Linked DNA regions of Homo sapiens: region 1 is linked to region 2. The links are contacts of gene promoters, found by promoter capture Hi-C in blood cells and fetal thymus (Javierre and others, 2016). All regions are on one chromosome and are shown on one strand. Each heading gives the region's core, a stretch centred on a gene start or on the middle of the fragment in contact. The rest is flanking DNA. Distances are from core to core; before and after follow the strand shown. Region 1 overlaps IFT140 (intraflagellar transport 140). Region 2 holds the start of TELO2 (telomere maintenance 2).

Region 1 (5,653 bases), core at 2,752-5,251, 78 kb before region 2:
TTCATCCTCCTGCCTCAGCCTCCCAAGTAGCTGGGACCACAGGTGCCAATCACCATGCCTGGCTAATTTTGTTATTATTATTATTATATTTTTGTAGACATGGGGTCTCACTATGTTGCCCAGGCTGGTCTTGAACCAAGCTGAAGTGACCCTCCTGCCTCAGCCTCCCAAAGTGTTGGGATTAGAGGTGTGAGCCACCATGCCTGGCCACTAATTTATTAAGTTACAAAAGGAATACATGTCAGTTGTAACTAGTAAGGTGGCTCTGGCGTGAGTAAGGGTGGGTTAGTGATCCCTCATGACCCTTCTTGGACACCCAGCATGTCCTTCCAGGTCACTATCCCTCCTCAGGATGCAGATGCATGGCTGCTGTTAGTGTTTGTGTCAGGGACGCAGTGACTACAGACACTTAGGAGCTTCCAGTCCTTAAAAGGACAGCTTCCTAGGCCAGAACTTTGGGGCCCCAGCCCTGCGTATGTTTCAGGGAGTCACATCTGCCCCATGGAGAACCTGAGGGAGGGGCCTCCCATGCAAAGGTCAAGTGCCATGGAAGGGGGTGGGATATGGGACCAGTTGGTGGTGGGAGGTGGGAAGGGAGGCAGGAGGGCTGGTCACCCTGAGGGCAGTTGGGGTTGAAGCTAGGAGTGACAGGGTACATTTTGTTGACCAAAAAGAGACTGAAGCACAAAATGTGATTTAAACAGTCTACTTGGCTGGGCATGGTGGCTCATGACGGTAATCCCAGCACTTTGGGAGGCCCAGGTGGGAGGATTGCTTTAGCCCAGGAGTTCCAGACCAGCCTGGGCAACATAGTGAGACCTCGTCTCTGCAAAAAAATACAAAAATATTAGCCAGGCATGGTGGCAAACCTATGGTCCCAGCTACTTGGGAGGCTTAGGTGGGACAATTACCTGAGCCTAGGGAGGTTGAGGTTGTAGTGAGCTGTGGTTGTACAACTACACTCCAGCCTGGGCAACAGAGTGAGACACTGTCTCAAAAATAAATAAGTAATTAAGTGAGTAGTCTACCTGAGCCAGGATAAAGGCAGCTGCCCAGAAAACTCAGCCCCGAGGAACACTGGGCCTGGGCTCCATTTTACGTTTGTTACAGGCAGGTTTTTAAGGCCGAAAAGAGGGACCGGGCACAGGCTAATGTCAGGTTGTTGGTCAGGAATCCTCTTTGGTTGATGGAAATGCCATTGATTAGCAATGGGCTGAGCATTGGTGCAGGTATGGTCTGCGGCAGCTTATCAGGTTAGTTCTCAGCTACCTGTGGCGGCAGCAGGCAGTTTCCAGAGAAGAACACAGCTCAAGGGAGAGCAGGGCGTGGCTGCTGCCTCATTTAAGGTCTCTGGGGGCCTGATCCCTGAAAAGGACTTACCTTCCTCTGATAACAGTTCTTTCCTTTCCCCAATTTTGACTTATTTTCTTGGCTTTGTGTTATTTTCTCCCTAGAAAGTAACTTCTGTGCCAGCGTAGTGGGGAGCCAAGCTTAAGGGTGGAGAAGAGTGAAGTTGTGGGAGACGCCGCAGGAGAGCAGCTCAGCCTGGCCCCAGGCAGCAGCCACCAGCAGAGCTGGAGTGGAGGGGCACTGTGGCTCTTATAAGGGGGGTGACTAGTTGCATGATGGGTGGCTACAGAGAGTATAGAACTGAGGATGTTCTGAGTTTTCTAGCCTGAGAGGTTGGGTTTGTCGTGGCACCTTTAAGACAGGAACTCCAGAGGCAGAGCTGGCATAGGGGGCAGGGCAGGATGCAAGTTCGAGTTCGTGGTGCCTTGGAGAGCCCTTAGGGGTGTCTAAGAGACAGTTGGAAATACAAGCTCTGGAGGTCAGGAGCTGGGTCAGTGCCCTGAAGACAGTACTTTGGGAGTTGGGAATGTATTGACATAGAGATGTTAAAGAATGTAAAAGAGTTGAGCTCAGATCTGAACCCGGGACCCAGCAGGTAAGGGGCAGGGCAGGGAGTGAGCTCACCGAGGAGCCTCCAGTGCTCTCTGTCATCATTAATAGTGTCAGCCCTGGCCCCATCAGCTAGTCCGCTCCCCCTGCTCTTTTTATCCTGTGTTCAAGCAGCCACTTGCTCATTCCATAAGCATTTATTAGGCTCCCACTGGATACATCAAAATGAAGTGAGCTTCCTCAGCTTGGAATACTCCCACCCTGACTCCAGCCATCCGTCCCTCACCCTCAGTTTCCTAAACACACTGTGCAGGCTCCTGCCCCTTTGCTGGCTTTTGGAGTCTGTGTTTAGATTTCCGTGCCCACTAAGTTCTCCTGGAGCTCTGCCCACCTTCCAGCCTGCCTTGCCACTCAGATTCTGTGCAGCTCCCATGCACTAGATCTGTGCCTTCCCTGCTGCCTGTCTTGGCCCCAGGATGCATTCAGCCGTTCGCATCTGACTCGCTGCCCCCACGTGGAGTGCCCTGGGGATGTGCCACTCACTTGTGATGCTCCTCCCCCAACCCACTGCTGGGCAGGGTGTAGGCATTCACTGGGCATTGGTTGAATTGAGCCAAGAGCTTCGCTTTGAAACTCAGAGGATTAAGGTTAGTCCCTAAAAGACACACCACAAAGCATGAGGTCTGCTCCAGCGCAACTGTGGGGTGACTGTGGGGTATATGCTTTCTTTTTTGTTGTTGTTTCTTTGAGATGGAGTCTTGCTCTGTCGCCCAGGCTGGAGTGCAGTGGCATGTTCTCGGCTCACTGCAAGCTCCACCTCCCGGGTCCACACCATTCTCCTGCCTCAGCCTCCCGAGTAGCTGGGACTACAGGCACCCACCGCCACACCCGGCTAATTTTTTGTATTTTTAGTAGAGACGGGGTTTCACCGTGTTAGCCTGGATGGTCTCGATCTCCTGACCTCATGATCCACGCGCCTTGGCCTCCCAAAGTGCTGGGATTACAGGCGTGAGCCACCGCGCCCGGCCTGTGGGGCATGCTTTCTAACGTGCCGACTGTGGGACGTGCTTTCTAACATGCTGGAAAGGCCAAGGTGATGCTTTGAAAATATAAATGATGCGAAATCACTTCCCAGCTCAAAACCCTGCAGTCTTCCAGTTTCACTTAGAAGGAAATCTCACTCTTCCCCTCAGCCTGCAGGAACGCCCCTGTGGCCTCTGCCCACCTGGCTGACTTCTTAAACATTTTACTGAAATACCCACACACTTAGAAAGAGTGGGTGCGTCGTGCCTAAGCGTACGGTGCAGGGGCTTTTCGCGGGTGGGACATTGCCAGCATGTAACTAGCATCCTTCCTCTCCCCCACCGCCTCACCCAGGGTAACCATTCACGTGACACAACGTAACAAGTATTCCTGCGGCTTTCACATGACAGGGCCTCCACAGACAGGGCCCCCCAGAGCTCCCCAGTGGATGGAATTCGCCCTCTCTCCGTGCCTGGCACTTTCCTGAGATCCCATTCTTTACCTACATGGCACTTACTCAGCTGAGATTACATATGTATTTGTTTGTCGACCGCACTGCTGTCTGTTTTCCCCTCTAGACTGGAGGCACCAGAGCTCTCCTGAGGACAGGGCCCCGTCCTTCCCCCGCAGCACTAGAGTCCAGCAGAGTGCTGGGCACACTCTGAGCCGTCAGTAAACACTGAGCGAGTGAATGAGTGGAGTGTACAAGGTTATCTGTGAACAATGTTCAGTAACTCACATGAAATATATCCATTTCTTGTGTGTACAAGGTTATCTGTGAACAATGTTCAGTAACTAACATGAAATATATCCATTTCTTGTTCCTTTTCCTCAGGGGACTGTCAAACAACTCCTCCTTTTCTCGGAGACTGAGGGGAATCCCTGCTTCTTGGACATCTGTGGGAATTTCCTGGTTGTAGGGACAGACTTGGCTCACTTTAAAAGCTTTGATCTTTCCCGAAGGTAAATTTTTTTTCCAAATAGAAGTGTGAACATTTTTTTAGTCAGTCAGGAGACAGTGTGATGGGTAGAAAGTGAGTTAGAAGCCAGAAGACTCCTTAGGTGCCCATTTTAACACCGACATGCCACTTGTGCTCTCGAATGCCTCATGTTGGGGCTCAGTTCCTGGCCTTTGCCTGGTGGTGGAGCCGTGTCGGGGAGAGGAGGCTTGAATAGTTGAAGCACAGGGAGTGGTGAGGGTGGGGAAGCTTCTATATGATGAGTGCATGACATTGTACATTTGTTGGAAATCATAGCGCTTTATGGTGCAAAGTGTGAACCTTAATGTATACAAATGTTTAAAAAATCATTCAGGCTGGGCAGGGTAGCTCACACCTGTATTTCCAGCACTTTGGGAGGCCAAGGCGAGAAGACTGCTTGAGCCCAGGAGTTTGAGACCAACCTGGGCAACATAGCAAAACCCTGTCTCTACAAAAACTTTTAAAAATTAGCTGGGCATGGTGGCACGTACCTGTAGTCCCACCTGCTTGGGAGGCTGAGGTGGGAGGATTGCTTGAGCCTCGGAGATCGAGGTTGCGGTGAGCTGTGGTTGTGCCACTGCACTCCAGCCTGGGCCACAGAGTGAGACCCTGTCTCAAAAAAATCACTTAGAATGTTAGAGGACCCCAGGACGGAACACAGAAGGTAACAAAACAGTCTCACTGTGTTACCAAATGTATGAAACAGCTTCACTAAAGGGTGTGGGGGGAAAGTGCTGACCTAAGTGGCTCTGGGAGTGAGGGGAGGCCCTGGCGAGCACTTAGGCCGAAGGAACTGCACAGGAGCTCGGCTCTCTAGTGGAGAATTCTGCTCCCCACAGGGGTTGGGATGAGCAACGCTGATCCTGTGATGCGTGTGCACTGGAATTGGACAGCTGAGCAAATGGAGGGTAGATGGCAGGAGCCTGGCATCGCGTGGTGGGAGTGGGAGTGGGAGTTACAGATTAGCAAGTGGAGGGACTAGAATAGGCCCTGGGAGAGTGGATCAGAGGTAGAGGTGTCAGCATGAACAAATCCCTGGCTTCATGTAGGTAGGGATGACTCCATACACAGAATCGTAGGTCTGTATCAATGTACCCGTTGGTACACACATATTTCCTCACTCTGTCAGCTGAGAGGGCCTAGAAGCAACAACCCTGTCCCAGCAGGCACACCTGGTGCCCAGACCTTGGTTTCTACCACCATCCTCCAATAAAGGAGCTATGGATCCTTGGAGAGATGCTGACTCTAGGACCAGGACAGGAAATGTACAAATGAGCTGGCAGCATCTGTGCTGCCCGAAAGTGAGGAAGTGCTAAAAACAAAGCAAACCAAAAAACCTCATAAAGATGGCAGGGTGGGGGTCACAGAGACACAGACCCCACCAAAAGAGGTCCTAATAGCCAAAGCTGGAATAATTGGAGCAACAAAATAAATAAAGCAGGCCAGATGCGGTGGCTCATGCCTGTAGTCCCAGCATTTTATTTATTTATTATTTTTTTTTTTTCTGGGTGGCCCATTTCATCCTGCAAGTCCCAGCACATTGGGAGGCCAAGAGAGGTGGATTGCTTAGGCCCAGGAGTTCAAGACCAGCCTGGGCAGCATGGTGAAACCCAATTTCTTAAAAAAAAAAAATTAGCCAGGCATGGTGACTTGCATCTATAGTACCAGTTACTCAGGTGGCTGAGGCAGGAGGATCACTTGAGCCCAGGAGGTCAAGGCTGCAGTGAGCCAAGATCACACCACTGCACTAC
Region 2 (5,593 bases), core at 803-3,302:
GCCAGCCGGCCCTCGCGCAGGAATCTGGCCAGCAGCCGCGCCATCTTCATCAGCCGGAAGCTGGGGCTGAAGATACGGGCGTGTTGGGCAGAGCCGCCAACCCCCATCCTCGGGGCCCCCTTCCTGCCACAAGGAACCAGCAGCCCGGATTACACGGGCAGCCCCAACAACATAACCAGCGTGAAGTCCAAAACCACAAGCCGGATGGGAAAATCTGTTAATCCATTCCTAAATAACTGCGATTACTGTGTGAGAGCTCTCGGGGCCCTGAGCGGCTTCCCCAACCTGGAGTCTCACTGGACACCCCTCCCCTGCTGCTGACGCGGATAACTCAGTGCTTGCTTTGATCACAGCAACCTCTGAAAACCCAGCTTCTCAAGATGCAGTGTCCCGGCAAGGACTGCAGTGTGATCTGAGGCTGAGCCTGGGAGCCGGCTGGGGCTGGGAGTCCACATGGGACACGTGTCAGTGATGACAGCTGTGCTTCCCTGGAAAACCTGGAACGTCCCCAGCTGACGGGCTGCCTCTGCCGCCTGGGATGTGAACACTCCCACCCCATCCCTCTCTGACACAGCCGGACGGGGAGCAAGTGGGGGACTTTGTGAGACACAGCAGGTGCCTCCCGTCGCAAAGGAGACAGACACAGACCGCTTCTTCTGTTCAGGGGTTCAGCCAGGAGCAGGCTCTCTCTCTAGCCCCTCACAGGGACTAGAGAGGCTCTTGGTCCAGTCCTTCAAGCCACTCTCATCACTTCTGAGGCTACCGGCAACCCCAGGATGGGCCCAGCCCACTCACCCCGCAGCACCCTCGATGGTCTCCATCAACACCAGGAAGGCTTGGTCCGCCGGGCCCTCCAGGAAGAAGCTGGCCCACAGCTCCTCCAGGCGGCCATGGGGCAGCAGCTCCAGCCAGGCTGGGCTCAGCCTGCTGGCAAGACATCTGAGGACAGGCGAGAAGTGGGCCGAGGCAAACTCCTCCTTCTCCCTCGGGAGCGCTGGAGGCTCCATCTCACCGAGATACCGCTTCAGGGACTCCAGGGTGCAGAAGATGTGGCCGCCATCCTCCGAAGACGAGAGGGCATGAATGGCTTCCCGGACGGCGAGTCGAACCTCTGAGGGTGCTGGCTCCATCCTGCAGGACAGATCTGGGCGTCACGGGAAGACGACCTGTGACATGGACACAGGGCTCAGCTTGGGGCACGGAAATAATCCACACAAGCTCAGGAAGCCCCTCGGTGAGCGCCCCGAGACCCCACACCCCTCAACCCTGGTCCCACCCAACCCTGTCCCGCCTCCTTCCCCTCCAGTGCCTGCCGGTTTCCACCCAGAGTTCGCTCCTCCGCTCGGACCCCAACGCTACCAGCCACTGCAGGGCTTCTCAACCCGGGCCACTGTGCCCAGGGAACATTCTCAGTTGTCTCAACCGGGAGTGCCACTGGCGCGAGAGGGAGGTGGAGGCTAGAGATGCTGGTGAGTGTTCCCCGGGCACAGCGCGGCCCCACGCGTCCTCGCACCCAAGGCGGGAAACTCGGCCCGCGGGAGCTGCCGGCCCTCCCGGCTCCCTGAGCGGTGAGAGGTGGCTCCAGTCGCCATTCCTCCGCCCCTTAGAAACCAACAGCTTACGGGGAACACGGGTTCGGGGCTAGAGGAGCCGCACGCGGACCCGCCCCCGATCCAGGCCCGGACCCCGACCTGTACCCGGACCCCGACCGGACTCCTACCCGACCTGGACCCGACCCAACCAGACCTGGAGCCCAACCCGACCCAACCGGACCCCCGATCCCCGATCCCCGACCCCCAACCCGACCTGGACCCGGCTCCCGGGTGACTGCAGCGCGCTCAGGCGCCGCGCGCCACCGATTCGCTGCAGCCGATTCCCCACGGCCGCCGCGGCCCCGGACGAAACGCGATCGCGGCCCAGCCGGTTGGCCCCGAGCACGAGTTCCTGGGTCCGGGCGAGGCTCCCGCGGGTTTTCTTGAGCCTCTGGGGCGGGTCTCCGCGGGCCTCTCAGCGCGAATCTGCGGAGGACGCCAGGCGGGAGGGCGCATCTGCGCCTGCGCTGCGCGGGGACGGGGCGGAGCCTGGACGCGGGAGCGGGGGGCGGTGGGGTGGGCGGGGCCTGACGCGTGAGTGGGGCGGGGCCTGAGGGCAGGGCCGCGCTTCCCCACGTGGCTGCGAGCTGGGTTCGCTGCGCCCGGGTGGTGGGTTCTCGCCTTAGTTTCTCCCATCTCGGTCGTCCCTACCCTGGAGTGATGTCAGCCGTCTCTTCCCTCCGCCTCGGGTCCCACATTCTCTCCAGAACGCCGAGCGTTCGCTCTAAGGCAGATGTTTACCAAGACAGGCCTGGCTCGTCTTCCCCGGATGTAAGGCTCTGCTTTCAAGGGTCAGAGGCCAGTAAGGGAAACGCACGGTACACAAGGAAGTAAAAGAGCAGTTGAGATCATGTCAGATCTGAACAATTGCAGCTCCGTAAATGAGGCCGGGTCGTGGAATAAAAACTGCGACCAGTAGGGTAAGCGCTAGACGCATGTGGCTCTGTAAATTAACTGAAGTTAAATAAGTCCAGTTCCCTTGCAGCACTAGCCCCATCTCAAGGGCTCGGTACTACCTTTGGCTGTGGCCGCCAGGCTGGACAGCCGGACACTGAACATTTACAACATGCAGTGCCTTCTGTACACCGCAGCGGAGTGTGGGGGGCTTCATCTTTGTGGAGGGGGCAATCCAGGAAGACACCTAAAGAGGCGCCATTTCAGCAGTGATGGATGTGGGAAAAGCTGGGGAACAGTTATCCATTCAACAAACATTGATTAAATGCCTGCTTGGTGCACCAAGCCTTCTGAGCAACAAATGATGCAAAGTTCCTGCTCACCTATCGGGGGAACAGATAAAGTACATACGAAATATGCCAGGTGACAGGCCTCGAGCAGAAAAACTGGCAGAGGCCGGGCCCGGTGGCTCACGCCGGTAATTCCAGCACTGGGAAGCTGAGGTGGGAGAATCGTTTGCACCCAGAAGTTCAAGAATGGGAAAAATAGTGAGACCCTGTCTCTACAAAAAATTTAAAAATTAGCCAGGCACGGTGTCATGAGCCTGTGATCCCAGCTACTCAGGAGGCTGAGGTGGGAGGATGGCTTGAGCCCGGGAGGTTGAGGCTGCAGTGAGCCATGTTCACTGCCACTGCACTCCAGCCTGGACAACAGAGCAAGACCCTGTTTCAAAAAAAAAAAAGGAATCAAAATAAAAAACCGGTAGGGTAAGAAAATAAGAGCCAGTGGCCGGGCACAGTGGTTCACACCTCTAATCCCAGCACTTAGGGAGGCCGAGACGGGTGGGTCACAAGCTCAGGAGTTCGAGACCAGCCTGGCCAACATGGTGAAACCCCGTCTCTCCTAAAAAAAGAATAATAATAATAATAATAGTAATACAAAAATTAGTTGGGCGTGGTGGCATGTGTCTGTGATCCCAGCTACTTGGGAGGCTGAGGCAGGAGAATTGCTTGAACCCAGGAGGCAGAGGTTGCAATGAGTGGAGATTGTGCCATTGAACTCCAGCCTGGGTGACAGAGCGAGACTCCTCCAAAAAAAAAAAAAAAGAAAAGAGCCAGAGAGCAGTGGGTGCTGTCTTACGTAAGGTGAGAGCTCTGAACAGAACACCTTAGAGCAGAGCCCTGAATGTGTTGACAGCCAGGGAAGAGTCTCACTGGCAGGAAAACGGCAGGTGCAAAGGCCTGAGGCCGCAACTGTTGCCCGGGAGGTGGAGCCGAGGGAGGCATATGCAGGGGTGAGGCCTGGAGGGAGTGAGGCAGTGGGCCAGGCCACAGAAGGCCCTCGCAGGGACTAAGATTTTGCTTGTGTGGCAGGCATCTCCTGGAGCCATTGAAGGCACGGGTCCATGCTGGTGCAGTTAGGAGAGCAGACGGTAGGGGGGCGACACGGACGAGGGGACTAGGTGGCCATTGTGAGGATGAGCTTGGGGCGGAATGGGGGTGTAGAGAAGCAGCTGAACTCAGGGCATGTCTCTGCAGGCAGAGCTGATGGATGGGATATGGGGCAGGCAGCATCCCATCATCCCGGAAACTCCTCCTCCGTCCGCTGCTGGGTTCCAGCCCTCGCCAGTGCCCACGGCAGCTCCGTCCTTCCCTATTCCCTTCTTTTCCTGAAGCCCCGCATCCAACAGTGGGTGCTTGGAGGACAAATTTCTCAAGCCTTTGTGTGTCTGAAAATGTCTTTATTCTTTGCTCTGTCACCCAGGCTGGAGTGTAGTGGCGCGATTTCAGCTCACTGCAACCTCCTTCTCCCCGGCTCAGGCGATCCTCCCGCCTTAGCCTTCCAAGTAGCTGGGACTGCAGGTGCACACCACCACGTCTGGCTGATTTTTGTAATTTTAGTAGAGACGGGGTTTTGCCATGTTGCCCAGCCTGGTCTCGATCTCCTGGACTCAAGTGATCTGCCCACCTTGACCTCACAAAGTGCTGGGATTACAGGAGAGAGCCACCACACCCTGCCCCGACCCACAACTTTAAATGGAAATCAGGCAGGCTCAGTGGCTCACGCCAGTAAACCCAGCACTTTGGCTAGGCTGAGCTGGGAGGATTGCTTGAGCCCAGGAGTGTTTGAGAACAGCCTGGCAACATAGCAAGACCCTTCTCTACCGAAATAAAATAAATACATAAATAAATGGAACTCACTGTCAGTTGGAAGCTGCGAGATCCGCCGCTCTGTGTGTGGCACCAGCGTCGCTGTCCTGGTGGCTGCCAGTCCCCCGGGGCCTAAGGCCCCAACCCCGTCCATGTGCCCAGGATGTTCTCTCCGATGCTTTCTGCATCTTCTCCATGTCCATGGTGTTCTGACGCTTGACAAGGGGAGCCTGGGGGCCACCGATGGTTTCCTGGCCTGGCACCCTCTTGGCTCATGCCACCTTGGGAATGATGGATGCCCCCAGTGGGACAACTTTGTGGATGATCTTATTCCCATGAGCTGGGCGGCTTGAAACAACAGAAATGAGTCCTATCACAGTTCTGGGGGCTGGAAGTCTTGAAGTGAAGGTGCACACTCCCTCGAAGGCTCTGGGCTGGGGGTTCCCACTTTACCTCTTCCAGCTTCTGGGGCCTCTGGGGGTTCCTCGTGGCAGCGTCACCCCAGTCTCTGCCCCATCTTCACAGGCCGTGTCCTCTGTGCCTCCTCCTCTGTCTCTTGTACCCCTGTCATTGGCTTTAGGGCCACCTGGATAATCCAGGATGGTCTCATCTCAAAATCCTTCATGACATCCGCAGAGACCTTTTCCACATAAGGCCCTGCCTGGGGCTTATGTGTGTTTTTAGGAGGGTCTCATTCAAGCCAGTACACAACCTGTAACCAAAAATACCAGCCTGGCCCACATGGGGCAACCCCGTCTCTACTACAAATACAAAAATTGGCCGGGCGCGGTGGCTCATGCCTGTAATCCCAGCATTTCGGGAGGCTACAGCGGGTGGATCACCTGAGGTCGGGAGTTTGAGACCAGCCTGGCCCACATGGTGAAACCCCGTCTCTACTAAAAATACAAAAATTAGCCGGATGTGGGGGCACATACCTGTAATCCCAGCTACTTGGGA

The links. The method cuts DNA at HindIII sites, captures the fragments that hold promoters and counts their contacts. A CHiCAGO score of 5 or more calls a contact.
Region 1: a fragment that was not itself captured here is called in contact with the fragment with the promoter of TELO2 in region 2 in 2 of 17 cell types (M1 macrophages and megakaryocytes); the score reaches 6.2 in M1 macrophages.

The regions. Positions count from the first base shown.
Region 1 is chr16:1,569,639-1,575,291 of GRCh38, reverse strand. It overlaps IFT140 (intraflagellar transport 140), which reads left to right. Exons shown (of 31, transcript NM_014714.4): 14 at 3,758-3,885. Among named protein-coding and RNA genes, the nearest start is that of TMEM204, 39 kb to the right of the region's middle. The HindIII fragment of the contact is 263 bases long and covers 3,870-4,132 here.
Region 2 is chr16:1,489,819-1,495,411 of GRCh38, reverse strand. TELO2 (telomere maintenance 2) reads right to left here and starts at 2,052. Exons shown (of 21, transcript NM_016111.4): 1 at 1,807-2,052; 2 at 796-1,166; 3 at 1-66. The coding sequence starts at 1,130. RefSeq lists enhancers at 1-445, 1,347-2,247, 2,345-2,394 and silencers at 1,615-1,814, 1,825-1,874, 2,045-2,134. The HindIII fragment of the contact is 10,177 bases long and covers 1-5,593 here.